4 separate regions of the Homo sapiens genome follow, and regions 1, 2 and 3 are each linked to region 4. The links are contacts of gene promoters, found by promoter capture Hi-C in blood cells and fetal thymus (Javierre and others, 2016). All regions are on one chromosome and are shown on one strand. The core of a region is centred on a gene start or on the middle of the fragment in contact, and the rest is flanking DNA. Distances in the headings are between cores, read along the strand shown.

The links. Contacts are between HindIII fragments. The CHiCAGO score rates a contact against its expected background, and 5 or more counts as called.
Region 1: a fragment that was not itself captured here is called in contact with the fragment with the promoter of FAM200B in region 4 in 1 of 17 cell types (naive B cells); the score reaches 5.9 in naive B cells.
Region 2: a contact is called between a fragment that was not itself captured here and the fragment with the promoter of FAM200B in region 4, in 11 of 17 cell types (naive CD4 T cells, fetal thymus, activated CD4 T cells and 8 more). The highest score is 10.5, in naive CD4 T cells.
Region 3: a contact is called between a fragment that was not itself captured here and the fragment with the promoter of FAM200B in region 4, in 1 of 17 cell types (non-activated CD4 T cells). The highest score is 5.6, in non-activated CD4 T cells.

The regions. Positions count from the first base shown.
Region 1 is chr4:15,244,117-15,246,903 of GRCh38, reverse strand. The region is part of intron 2 of C1QTNF7-AS1 (C1QTNF7 antisense RNA 1); the gene reads left to right. Among named protein-coding and RNA genes, the nearest start is that of C1QTNF7-AS1, 180 kb to the left of the region's middle. The HindIII fragment of the contact is 2,375 bases long and covers 150-2,524 here.
Region 2 is chr4:15,227,229-15,229,928 of GRCh38, reverse strand. All of the region lies in intron 2 of C1QTNF7-AS1 (C1QTNF7 antisense RNA 1), which reads left to right. Among named protein-coding and RNA genes, the nearest start is that of C1QTNF7-AS1, 200 kb to the left of the region's middle. The HindIII fragment of the contact is 1,822 bases long and covers 448-2,269 here.
Region 3 is chr4:15,395,049-15,397,790 of GRCh38, reverse strand. All of the region lies in intron 1 of C1QTNF7-AS1 (C1QTNF7 antisense RNA 1), which reads left to right. It also overlaps a transcript of C1QTNF7 not described here. Among named protein-coding and RNA genes, the nearest start is that of C1QTNF7-AS1, 31 kb to the left of the region's middle. The HindIII fragment of the contact is 907 bases long and covers 807-1,713 here.
Region 4 is chr4:15,680,506-15,683,205 of GRCh38, reverse strand. FAM200B (family with sequence similarity 200 member B) reads right to left here and starts at 1,379. Exons shown (of 2, transcript NM_001145191.2): 1 at 1,305-1,379. It also overlaps a transcript of FBXL5 not described here. RefSeq lists enhancers at 1,110-1,159, 1,170-1,409, 1,580-1,879. The HindIII fragment of the contact is 4,207 bases long and covers 265-2,700 here.

The DNA of each region.
Region 1 (2,787 bases), core at 88-2,587, 440 kb after region 4:
AGTACAGAGAAAACTTCATAAAAAGAGAACCAAAGGGGGAGTTGAAGTTTCCTTGCTCCAGGCCTATACCTGAGAGCACATATCCTCTAAGCATTTAAAAACCTTCTGAAGAATGTGGAAATAGGCAGAGGGGAGATTATTTTTAAGCTTGCTGGTATCTGGGAATGGAGAGTAGCTGTTGCTAATGGCCAATGGGGAGAAATGATGAAAAGATAGAAATGCTAGAACCTTATATTGCCTGCAGTTAGACACTGCATGGATATAGTGGGGGATTTTGAAGAAGGCTCTAGAACACACAGTCTCTACAGAGGAGTGCAGTACAAAGGGCTCTAAGTTTGGACTCAGATGTCCTGGATCTGAAGCTCAGTATCCACTCTGGGTAATCTCTTGTCATGACCAGTTAATAGAAACTCTGAGAATATCAAGTTGTGATCAGCAAAATGGAAACATAGTAACTGTCTAAAAGAGCCATTCTGGGAACAGATTCACTGGGTTAACTTCATTCATTCACTAATTTGTTTATGTATTAACATTACTAACTGCCAATGTATGTAAGGCACTGTGCTAAGTTCTAGGAAAATAGAAAGGAGTCATCTGACTCCATTGCAAATTGGACTTTAAAATTCTAAAAGTGTTATGCTCTTTTAAAAAAATAGTTTCTATTTGTAATTGTAGGATATGAAATATTAAATGGACAATTATTCTGGTTAATGTGATGTTGGTAGATCTGGAGTCCAACCCAACTGGCTTCCTCTTGATTCCAAAGGATGTTCCTGAGTCACTTCCCAGGGATCCTCTGAGTGACATGGAATTGCTCTGAAACCACTGCATCCCAATGCAAGCCACCTTGCTGTATCACTCTATCAAATAGCCCATGTTCTGTACTCCTAAGCAGGATTGTCTTTCACAGAGGTTAAAGAAAGAGAGGGCAAATCCTAGTGGCCTTGGAGTAATGCACATTTTTTTCAGGAGGTTGATGAGAGTATCAGTGAGCAGCTACCCCAGAAAAATCTATTTTGTAGCCTGGCATAGAAAACTGGCCTTGATTTTTAATCTTAGCACAGCACCTGGCATAGAGATGCTCCATACATGATTTGCTGAATAAATGAATAGACTCCCCCATGACAACCTTTCCATCTGGCATGAAGTGGCCTACCATGGTGGCCATGAGCATTGCCTCCAGACCCCCCACCACAGACAGCAGAGTCAGCTGCTGGGCTTTGAAATCCACTGTGGTGTTTGTACCAAGGCTGTGTCTCCCATGGGTAGCTCCTGGCAAGGAAGAGCCTGGTGCAGACACTAAGTAGACTAAGGGATCCCTCTGGGTGAGCAGCTTTTTCTCAAGGACTCCGCGATGGCTTTGCTGAACCCTCTTTTGACTGCATGACAGGCAGTCTGTGATGTTTCCCCTACCCCCAACCTCCTCTCCCTCTCTCCTTCGCTTGAGTCAGATTCTTATCATGTTCTGATGACCTCCTAACCTTCCCAGCTCCCATCATTTTCTCTCTTACACAGGCATTTCTCCAATACAGTCCTTACATGTTTAACCCTGTCTTGTTACCTGTCCCTGGGAGGACCTGGACTGTCACATTTGCCAATCACTTTGTAGGATTAAATTATCTGGCCGTTGATTATGGATTTTAAGAACCAGCCCAGGCAGATAAGCATCTGTGAGGGTGGCCTGGAGTGGGAGGGCCTTGGGGATGAGTCAGCAAGGGAGGGGGTTTCACCCAGGACAGTTGGAGGGGAGTCAGAGTTGAACCTGGAAGAGTAGAAGAAGCACCACATCTCTAAAGAGAAAGAAGCACAAGAACTGATGAATGACCCGGTCAGGCTAGTAGCAAGGAGGGGGAAGCAGACTGCAATCAGATGGGATAAATGAAGTGGGGAGGGCAGTTCAACATGAAGCAGTTCAACATGTGCATAGAAAGGCTTACTTTTTAAGGTTTATGATCAGGGGGCTTTAAAACCTATTTGGCACATAGATTTGGGTACATGGTGGTGGTTGAGGTAAGGGAAACCAAAGGAGCTGGTGGGAGTTTTAAACAAAGAACCAGACTAGGGATCGGCAGCACATGACTCCCTGCCAACCTTGACCTTATCCCTTGACCAGACACATTGACTGAAATGTGGCAAGGACCCAATAGGCTTTTGGACAGGATGATTACCTGGGGATTCTGGCAGATGAGATTCTAGGGATTCTGGCAGATGAGAGGCAACATGCCAAAACAAAAACTCATGACTGGCCACATGTGCTGATATAGTTTGGATGTTTGTCCCTTCCAAATCTCATGTTGAAATTTGATCCCCAGTGTTGGAGGTGCGCCCTTTGCGGGAGGTGTTTGAGTCATGGGGCAGACACTCATGAATAGCTTAGTGACTTTCTCACAGTAATGAGGGAGTTCTTACTCTATTAGTTCACTGATTGTTAAAAACAAGCCTGGCACCCCCTCCCTTCTCTCTTGCTTCCTCTCTTGCCATGTGACACACCTGCTCCCCTTGCCTTCTGCTATAAGTAAAAGCTTCCTGAGGCTGTCACTGGAAACCAAGCAAGTTCTGGAGGCTCTCACTGGAAACCAACCAAGTTCTGGAGCCATGCTTCTTGTACAGCCTGCAGAAACGTGAGGCTAATAAACCTCTTTTTAAAATAAATTACCCAGTATCAGGTATTTATTTACTTATTTTTATTTTATTATCTTTTTTTTTTTGAGACAGTCTTGCTCTGTCACCCAGGCTGTGGAATATAGTGGCGTGATCTCGGCTCACTCCAACCTCCGCCTCCCAGGT
Region 2 (2,700 bases), core at 109-2,608, 450 kb after region 4:
TTTTTTAACGTTCGGCATCCTGGATAAGTTCCACATCTTTCTGCCACTTCTCTCTCTCTCTCTCTCTCTCTCCCTCTGTCTTCTTTTTCTCTCTGTAATTGATGTATAGTGTTCCATGGTGAGGTGTACCTATTGTAACTCTGCAGTTTCCTTTCTAGGTAGTCTGCTGCCTTTATTCAGCAGAAGATCAAAGATCCCACCCATGCATGGTATCTCAAGGACTGGAGGGGGAAAAAAAGACAGCAAGTGGGAGTGCCCTCATTTGAGACTATATTTGAGTGAGCATTAAGTAGTGAGTAGCTGAACCTGTAGAGGCTGAAGGGCCTAGAGGCATTGTGGACAAGGCTCCTTGGCAGCTGAAAGATGAGCGGTGTGCTATGAATCCCACCTTACCTATAAGAATGGTACACTTTAATTGGAGGGTTCTTATGGTTTCTATTTTAAGCTTCATTCATATATCATTTATTCAGTCAACAAACATTTTTGAGTGTCTACTCTGAGGCAACCAGGAATGCAGAAATAAATTTTCTTAATAGATACAAACTGATAAGTATCCACAGAGCAATTGCATTCTATGGGACACAATTCATTTGCATTGATCTGGTCACAAATATTTGCATGACTCAGCTTTCTACAATTTACAGAGTAGTAGAAGGATTCAAAGACAATGAGGCTGGGCGTGGTGGCTCACATGGTGGCTCAATCCCAGCACTTTGGGAGGCCAAGGCGGGCAGATCACTTGAGGTCAGGAGTTCGTGACCAGCCTGGCCAACATCGTGAAACCCTGTCTCCGCTAAACATACAAAAATTAGCTGAGCATGGTGGCACACGCCTGTAATCCCAGCCACTTGGGAGGCGGAGGCAGGAGAATCGCTTGAACCTGGGAGGAGGAGGTTGCAGTGAGCTGAGATGGTGCCACTGCACTGCAGCCTGGGTGACAGAGCAAGACTCTGGCTCAAAAGAAAAAAAAAAAATTAAAAGACAATGAAAGGCAGAGATCACCCAGAAAGGTATATTAGGCTGAACATCCGGGAAGTTTTTTCTTCCTCTCATTTTAAAGACTTTCAGAATTTTAATGGACAAATATCACATTAACATACAACCGAAAAAAATGTGGCACGTAAATGCCAAGACCATGGAGATAAAGGCAGTTTAAAAACAGCAGAATTAATTTATCTGTAAGATGACTTTGGTAGGAGGAAAGTACACCAATCTTTCTACAAAACAGCAAGGAAGTACGGGGGCTGATGTATTTAGCACACATTGTTACTTGATATTGGAGGGCCCGCATAGGAACACTTGATGTTTATTAGTGGGTGATGGGGATTTCATCATAGATTGCAGCTATTTCCTTTAACCTGAACTTCAGGTCAGCTGGAACCTCCCAGACATCAGCAAATGTAAGCCCAAGCCTCTTCCTCTCCAGGTGCTCTGATTACCCAGGTGCTTCTTGTTCAGTTCCAGCTCCTGCTTCGTTTCTTGCCTGAGGGTTGTATCTCTTTTTTGATCCCAGCTTCGCTGGCTTTGACCCTAAGTTTTTCCAAGAAAATAGGACTTCACTTTCTTCCTTTCATCCCTGTGATATTGTTCTGATTATAAGATTGCGATGGTTAATATTAAGTGTCAACTTGATTGGATTGAAGGATGCAAAGTATTGTTTCTGGATGTATCTGGGTGTTTCTGGGTATGGCCAGAAGAGATTAACATTTAAATCCGTAGACTGGGAGATGAACACCCACGAACAATGTGGGTGGACACCATCCCATCGGCTGCCCACGTAGCTAGGAAAAGCAGGCAGAAGAAGGTGGAAGAAGCCGATTTGCTGAGTCTTCAGGCCTCCATCTTTCTCCCGTGCTGGATGCTTCCTGCACTCCAACATCAGACTCCAAGTTCTTTGGCTTTTGGACTCTTGGACTTACACCAGGGGTTTGCCAGGGGCTCTTGGGCCTTCGGCCACAGACTGAAGGCTGCACTGTCAGCTTGTCCACTTTTGAGGTGTTGGCACTTGGACTGATCCACCACTGGCTTCCTCGCTCCCCAGCTTGCAGACGGCCTATTGTGGGACTTCACCTTGTGATCAGGTGAGTCAATTCTCCTTCATAAACTCCCTTTCATATATACAAATATCCTATTAGTTCTGTCCGTCTAGAGAAACCTGACTGACACAAGGGGTCATATCCAATCATTGAGACTTTTGGAGTATCCTGGATAGAGGCCATCCTGTGTCTCCCACCAGCTGAGCTCAGAAAATAGAGAAAAACTGCAAGCTTTTGGAGAACCTTCAAACATCATGTTTAAAGAAAATTTAATTTACTTTCTTTTGGCTGAGCTCTTGTTTTGAACCCATACATCAGCTGAAGTGGGTTGTCTTTTGAAATTCAAGTGAAAAGACTTAAATCTAATTCTGTATACTGCAAGGGTTATTTATCTTTTCCCATCTCTGAAGGGATTTGAAGGGTGGGGCAGGATGGGATAGTTTAAGCCTTTTCCAATCATCTCTAAATCTCCCGCTGCCCATATATTCATTGGGTAATTGGTTGTGACAGTTTTGTCACAATGCTCAGCAAAGTGTATCCTTGTTCTGTTTCAAATTGAACCTCTTCCTTCACTGATTTCCACCAAAAATATCTACCCACACAAGACCCACGTGAGTGCTTGTTTGGCTTAATGGGGATGAGGGTTAGGTAGCAATGCACAAAT
Region 3 (2,742 bases), core at 11-2,510, 290 kb after region 4:
CCTATGACTAATTTAGGATCTACAGTGGAGCTGAGTGCATAGAATGTTGCTCTTTTTTATTTCTCAGAAAGCACATTCATAAGTGAAGCCTTAAGAACTCTTGGGAATGCTCACAGCCTAGAGAGAGTTGTGGTCTTCTTGTCTTTGAGACTTTAAGTCCCTTGAAGATAAGGGCCATGACTTACTATCTTCAAGCCCAGTGTGACACGGAGCTGTAAGCTCAGGCCTGTAACCACTATCCAGGTGCCTCTAGAGATAGCCAGAGGTGCAGAGGCACACTCCTGCCTCAGATTTTATGCTCACAAAGCATATTTTAGAGGAAGAGTTGTCTGAGCTCACTCCTGAATTTGAGTAGGGGATGACCACTCAGACAGAGGAGCCCTGAGCTTAGGCCCAGGAGGTTGCAGAGCAGGCGAGTAGCTATAGAGTCCACTGTGGGAGAACAGTCTCCGAGAGGTCTTAGGGGATCAGAAACTGCTGTTGCCCTGCTCCAGGGCTCTCAATCCACCTCTGAGCTCACTTGAAGCTGCAGTGGGAAGTTTCCATCTGATATGGTTTGGCTGTGTCCCCACCCAAATCTCATCTTGGATTGTACTCCCATAATTCCCATGTGTTGTGGGAGGGACCCGGTGGAATCACGGGGGCGGTTTCCCTCATATCGTTCTCATGGTAGTGAACAAGTCTTACAAGATCTGGTGGTTTATCAGGGTTTTCTGCTTTTGCATCTTCCTCATTCTCCTTTGCCTGCTGCCATCCATGTAAGACGGGACTTGCTCCTCCTTGCCTTCTGCCATGATTGTGAAGCTTCCCCAGGCACGTAGAACTGTATTAAACCTTTCTCTTTTGTAAATTGCCCAGTCTCAGGTATGTGTTTATTAGCAGCGTGAAAACAGACTAATATGCCATCACACTGACAGCCACCCCCTGAGTTGCCTGTGTCCCTTTCTCTGGAACTACAGGAAAGTTTATTCAGTGTGTGGGCTGCCAAGAAGGGCTGGTGATGGAAAGCCACCCAGGAAACCCTCAGTCAGTGAAGACACAGCCTCTCCTCTGCTGATGGGACAATTCTGAGGGGTGTTCTGAGGAACTCTCAGGGTCCTCAGAGGGACTGAGCATCAGTTGCCCACAGTGCCAACCACTCAATAACACACCTTTTTTTTAGCTTTATTATCCTTTTTCTGTCCCTACTCCCTGCTTTATGCATATAAATAATGTGCCCCCTAAGTCTTTGTCTTAGGGTTTTTGGAAACTAAAATATGATATGCTGCTTGGTGCTCAATAAATAATTGCTGAATACATGAGATCTGCTCAGCTGCCCCCAGATCATGATTAACACTGGAAGCGCTGAGAAAAGATAGTGCACAATTGTACTACTTCGCCTGACCTCCAGATGGAGCTCTCCTGCTCTGCTAGATACATTTTATGGTCCTCTGTGTCAGTGCTGTCTGCCCCCTGCCCCTCCCATTTGAAGGCACAGCCAGAGCCTCTCAATCTCAATCATCTCCAACCTGATGGAGGTTGGCTCAGGCCCACCTTGGTGGGAATTTGGAGCAGTGAGGCCCAGGATGCGGTACAAGTGGCTGAATCTTCACATTCGGGTGCTGTCAGGCTGCAGCCCTCATCCATTGCTGGTGCCCTGGTCAAGTTGGAATGACATCCTCCCTGAGGTCCTTGTGAAGGTCTCAGCCACATCCACTTACTTGTTTGGAAGCTTTACTTGGAATTTTGCAGCTTTGCTCTGACCTGAAACTCCCACTGCTTAGAGCCCTCTTCATTGCCCCCCACTTACTAAAACTGATTTCTTTGGAGATTAGCATCTGCCCAGGTTCAAGCCCAGATTTCAGAGAAATTAGACTTTAAAGTTAAAACAGTGTCTTTGGAGTCAAAAAGACTGAGGTTTAACGTCTACTTCCACCACTGACTGGCCAGATGACCATAGGGGCAGGATACTTACCCCTCCCAGCTTCATTTTTCTCATCCGTAAAATGGTGATACTAATATGTGTTTCAAAGGGTTTGATTGTTAGAGACAATATATCTAAGGTGCCCTGTATTTTCTCAGCACAGAGTAGGTCTTACAATTTTCTGCTGTTTTTTCGGTGTCATTTGAACAATGGACCCTCCCTCGGCCCTGCCTTTCTCTATTTTCTCACTATCCCCCAGCTCCCAGCCCATCATGCCTCCTGGTAGAGAATGTCTGAGTTACGAGTCTGAGTATACTGGCCTCTTTTAACTGGGTTGTGGTTGTAACAGCTTTGTTTTCTTAGAGTCTGTGTCTATTTGGCATCCATTCATCACAGGGCCAGTTGTATTAACTATCTTTTCTTGTTTTCTGTGTTCCTGATGCTCTGGCATTTGACTGGGGAGAGACTGCACCTCCCAGGCATAGCCAGTTCTTACAGAAAGCAAGGGGGCTTGCCCAAGAGCACTCTTTTTTTAAATGCAAAAACACCAATCCAGAGTCCACGCCCCCCACCATCTCTTTTATGGAATTCTTACACATGGAGCCAATATTCCCTCTTCCCTAAATCACCCCAGGGCCAGGCACCAGACAACTAGGGACAGTCCCTATGCTCCAAAGCCATCAGACTTATTCCAAGTAGCCAGTCCTAAGCTGTTTATCCTGCCCTGTCTTGCTTTTCCCATGGAAAACACAGTGAAGGCTCTGGCCCAGGCTCTCTCTTCTCTCCCTTCTGCCCCCTGACCAGCCAGGCTCTTTCCCATGTGGCCCTGTGTGGCATGG
Region 4 (2,700 bases), core at 130-2,629:
AATGTGATAATATGATGGACTAGGAAAATGTTTTTGGATTTTTAGTCTGGCTGGTTGTCTTACTTGCTTAATGCAATGATTGTTATTGTTACAATGCTTGATAGTCTAAAATTCCCCGTCACTAATCTTTTATATCCTAAGATATATCTCTAGTGCGCTGTATCATCTTCTGAAAATACAGCTCTAATCAGCTTCCTCATAACTGGAAAAGCATTTAATGGCGCCGAGCTTGTGTAAGCTCTTCAGGATAATATCCTTTAAGCTTAAGCCTCATCTTTCCAGGTTTCTCCTTCATCACATGATCTCCATACATTCTACATTTCAGTACTAAAAGTATGGAAATTCTTGAAATAGTTCATGCACTTTCATGTCTCTGCTTTTGGCTAGTATTCCTTTTGCCTGGAATACTCTTGTTGGGTCACATGAAGTCCTATTTATTCTTTTCTACTTAGTTCAAATGCTACAGCAGCCATGCATTCAACTAACATTTAGCTACCTACAGTGCCTAAAGTATGTCAGGCACTGGAGATACTAAACAATGAACAGTGACATATTAAAATAACAGAATATCTGTTCAGCTATTAAGATGAATAAGGTGGAGTTACACAACACTGACAAATCTCAAAAACATTATGTAAAACAAGCTAGCTGCAAAAAGATGTACACATTACAGATTGCATAAAGGTGGTTAGGAGAGTGGTTTCCTTAGGCAAAAGGAAAGAGAATGAGACGGGGTAGAGCTGACAAAGGACTTCAATCACTTATATAATCATTTATTTCTCCAATTCAGTGGTGAGTACACATGTGTTATAGTTTTGTTTCTACCTTTTTTCTGTCTAAAATCGTCTATTTAAAAAAAGCATCTTTAAGGCTGGATACCTTCCTGAAGGCACTGGAAATCTGTCATACTGCCACTAACTTAAAATTACCTTCCACCTCTTGCATTTCCCTTTGTTTCCTGTTTTGACATTGCGCACACATTAGTTAGTACACTAGGCCTTAAGAGTGGAAACTGCCAGGTACCAGCTTTAGCTAGATTAAAACATGACCCTCTTCCCAGGAGACTCCTGACCGGTTTTCTCGTCCTCCAGGGACCCAGCTAGGATTTCAATGAACTTTGGCCTGAACCCCTCGGCCGACCCTAGAATAATCGCCCTTCAGGCCCGGATTGCTTCTGCTCTCACCTTCCCTCAATTCATACGGGGGGCAAAACCAGACTGTATTTCCCGCAACGAACCCTGGAATGCTTCGCTTTAGCGGACTCCGGTCCACTCCCATCAGAGGATGCCCTTCTTTCGCCTCACCTCCAGCCCAGCCGCAGCGACCCGGCCGGGCCCAGCGCTGCAAGCCTCAGGTCTCTCCAGCAGAGCTGCGCCTCTGCTCTCCCCACACTTCCCTCCGCAACACCACTTCCGGCCTACCTCACAAATTCCCCATTCCAGCCGAAAAGAACTGGATCGGCCCTCTGCGCATGCGTGAGACCGGGGCGGTGTCCGGGGGTGCCGGGAGCGGGCGGTGCAGGCTCCACTTTTCCACTTCCCTACGCTCTGTCGGCAGTCTCGCGGGATTTCCGCCTCTCGCGGGAGTTATTTGAATGCCAGGGCGGTAACGACTCCCTAGGCGCCTGGGGCCCTCTGACAAGAAACCCTAGGAGACACCGCGGAGAACTCTGCCTCTGAGCTGGTGGGCGGGCCGGATGTAGCCGAGCGCGGACAGGGCTAGTCCGGACAGAGTCCCAGAGCCATGGGAGCGAAAAGAGACTGCTGCGGATTAAGGAGGCCTTTCGGTTGGCGCAGCAGCCACACCACAACCAGGCGAAGCAGGTAGTGGCGCTGAATCGCTCCTGCCGCGGGGTAAGCGCTCCCGGCCCGCGCCCGCCCCAGCCCCGACCTGGCGGGGCCAGGACGCTGGTTCATACACTCCAAGGTGATTTTCATAGTCTTTGTGGAAGAATTAGAGAATTTTGAACTTTGATATCATTGCACGTGTTTACTTATTTAGAGAATCGCATTGTGTTTAATAATCATAGTATTCCTGTGCGACTCTTTAGGTTAGCAGATCATTGATTTTTAACATAAAACTGCATTTCATTAAATAGATTTAAATATGTATGTATATTTCTGTCCTCTAATGATTGTAACAAAGCAGATTTCTTGATCATTAACAAGATAGGTTCGTGCAAATAAGTGCATCTTTGTCACAAACCAAATTTTTTTGTGGTTGAGATATATATTTATATATATATGTGAAACAAAAAACATATAAAGGAGAATATATATATATTCTTATATATATAATATATACTGCTTTATTTTTTTGGGTTGACATATATATGTCATATATAGTTTTTTTTTAAATTCTACCTTAAACAGGGAAACATGTTAGATACAGGAGCTTGAATTTCAACTCTGAAACTTAATGCGACTTTATCAGCATTTCTCTTTCTCAAGCTACTTACTTCTTGTAGGATTACACAGTCAAATTTTTAAAAATTTTTGATTCTCCAACTGGATTTTTTTTTTTAATTTTTGAGACGGAGTCTCACTCTCTCGCCCAGGCTGGAGTGCAGTGGCGCAGCCTCGGCTCACTGCAACCTCAGCCTCCTGGTTCAAGCGATTCCCCTGCCACAACCTCCCGAGTAGCTGGGATTACAGGCGACCGCCACCATGCCAGGCTAATTTTTGTATTTTTCAAAAATAC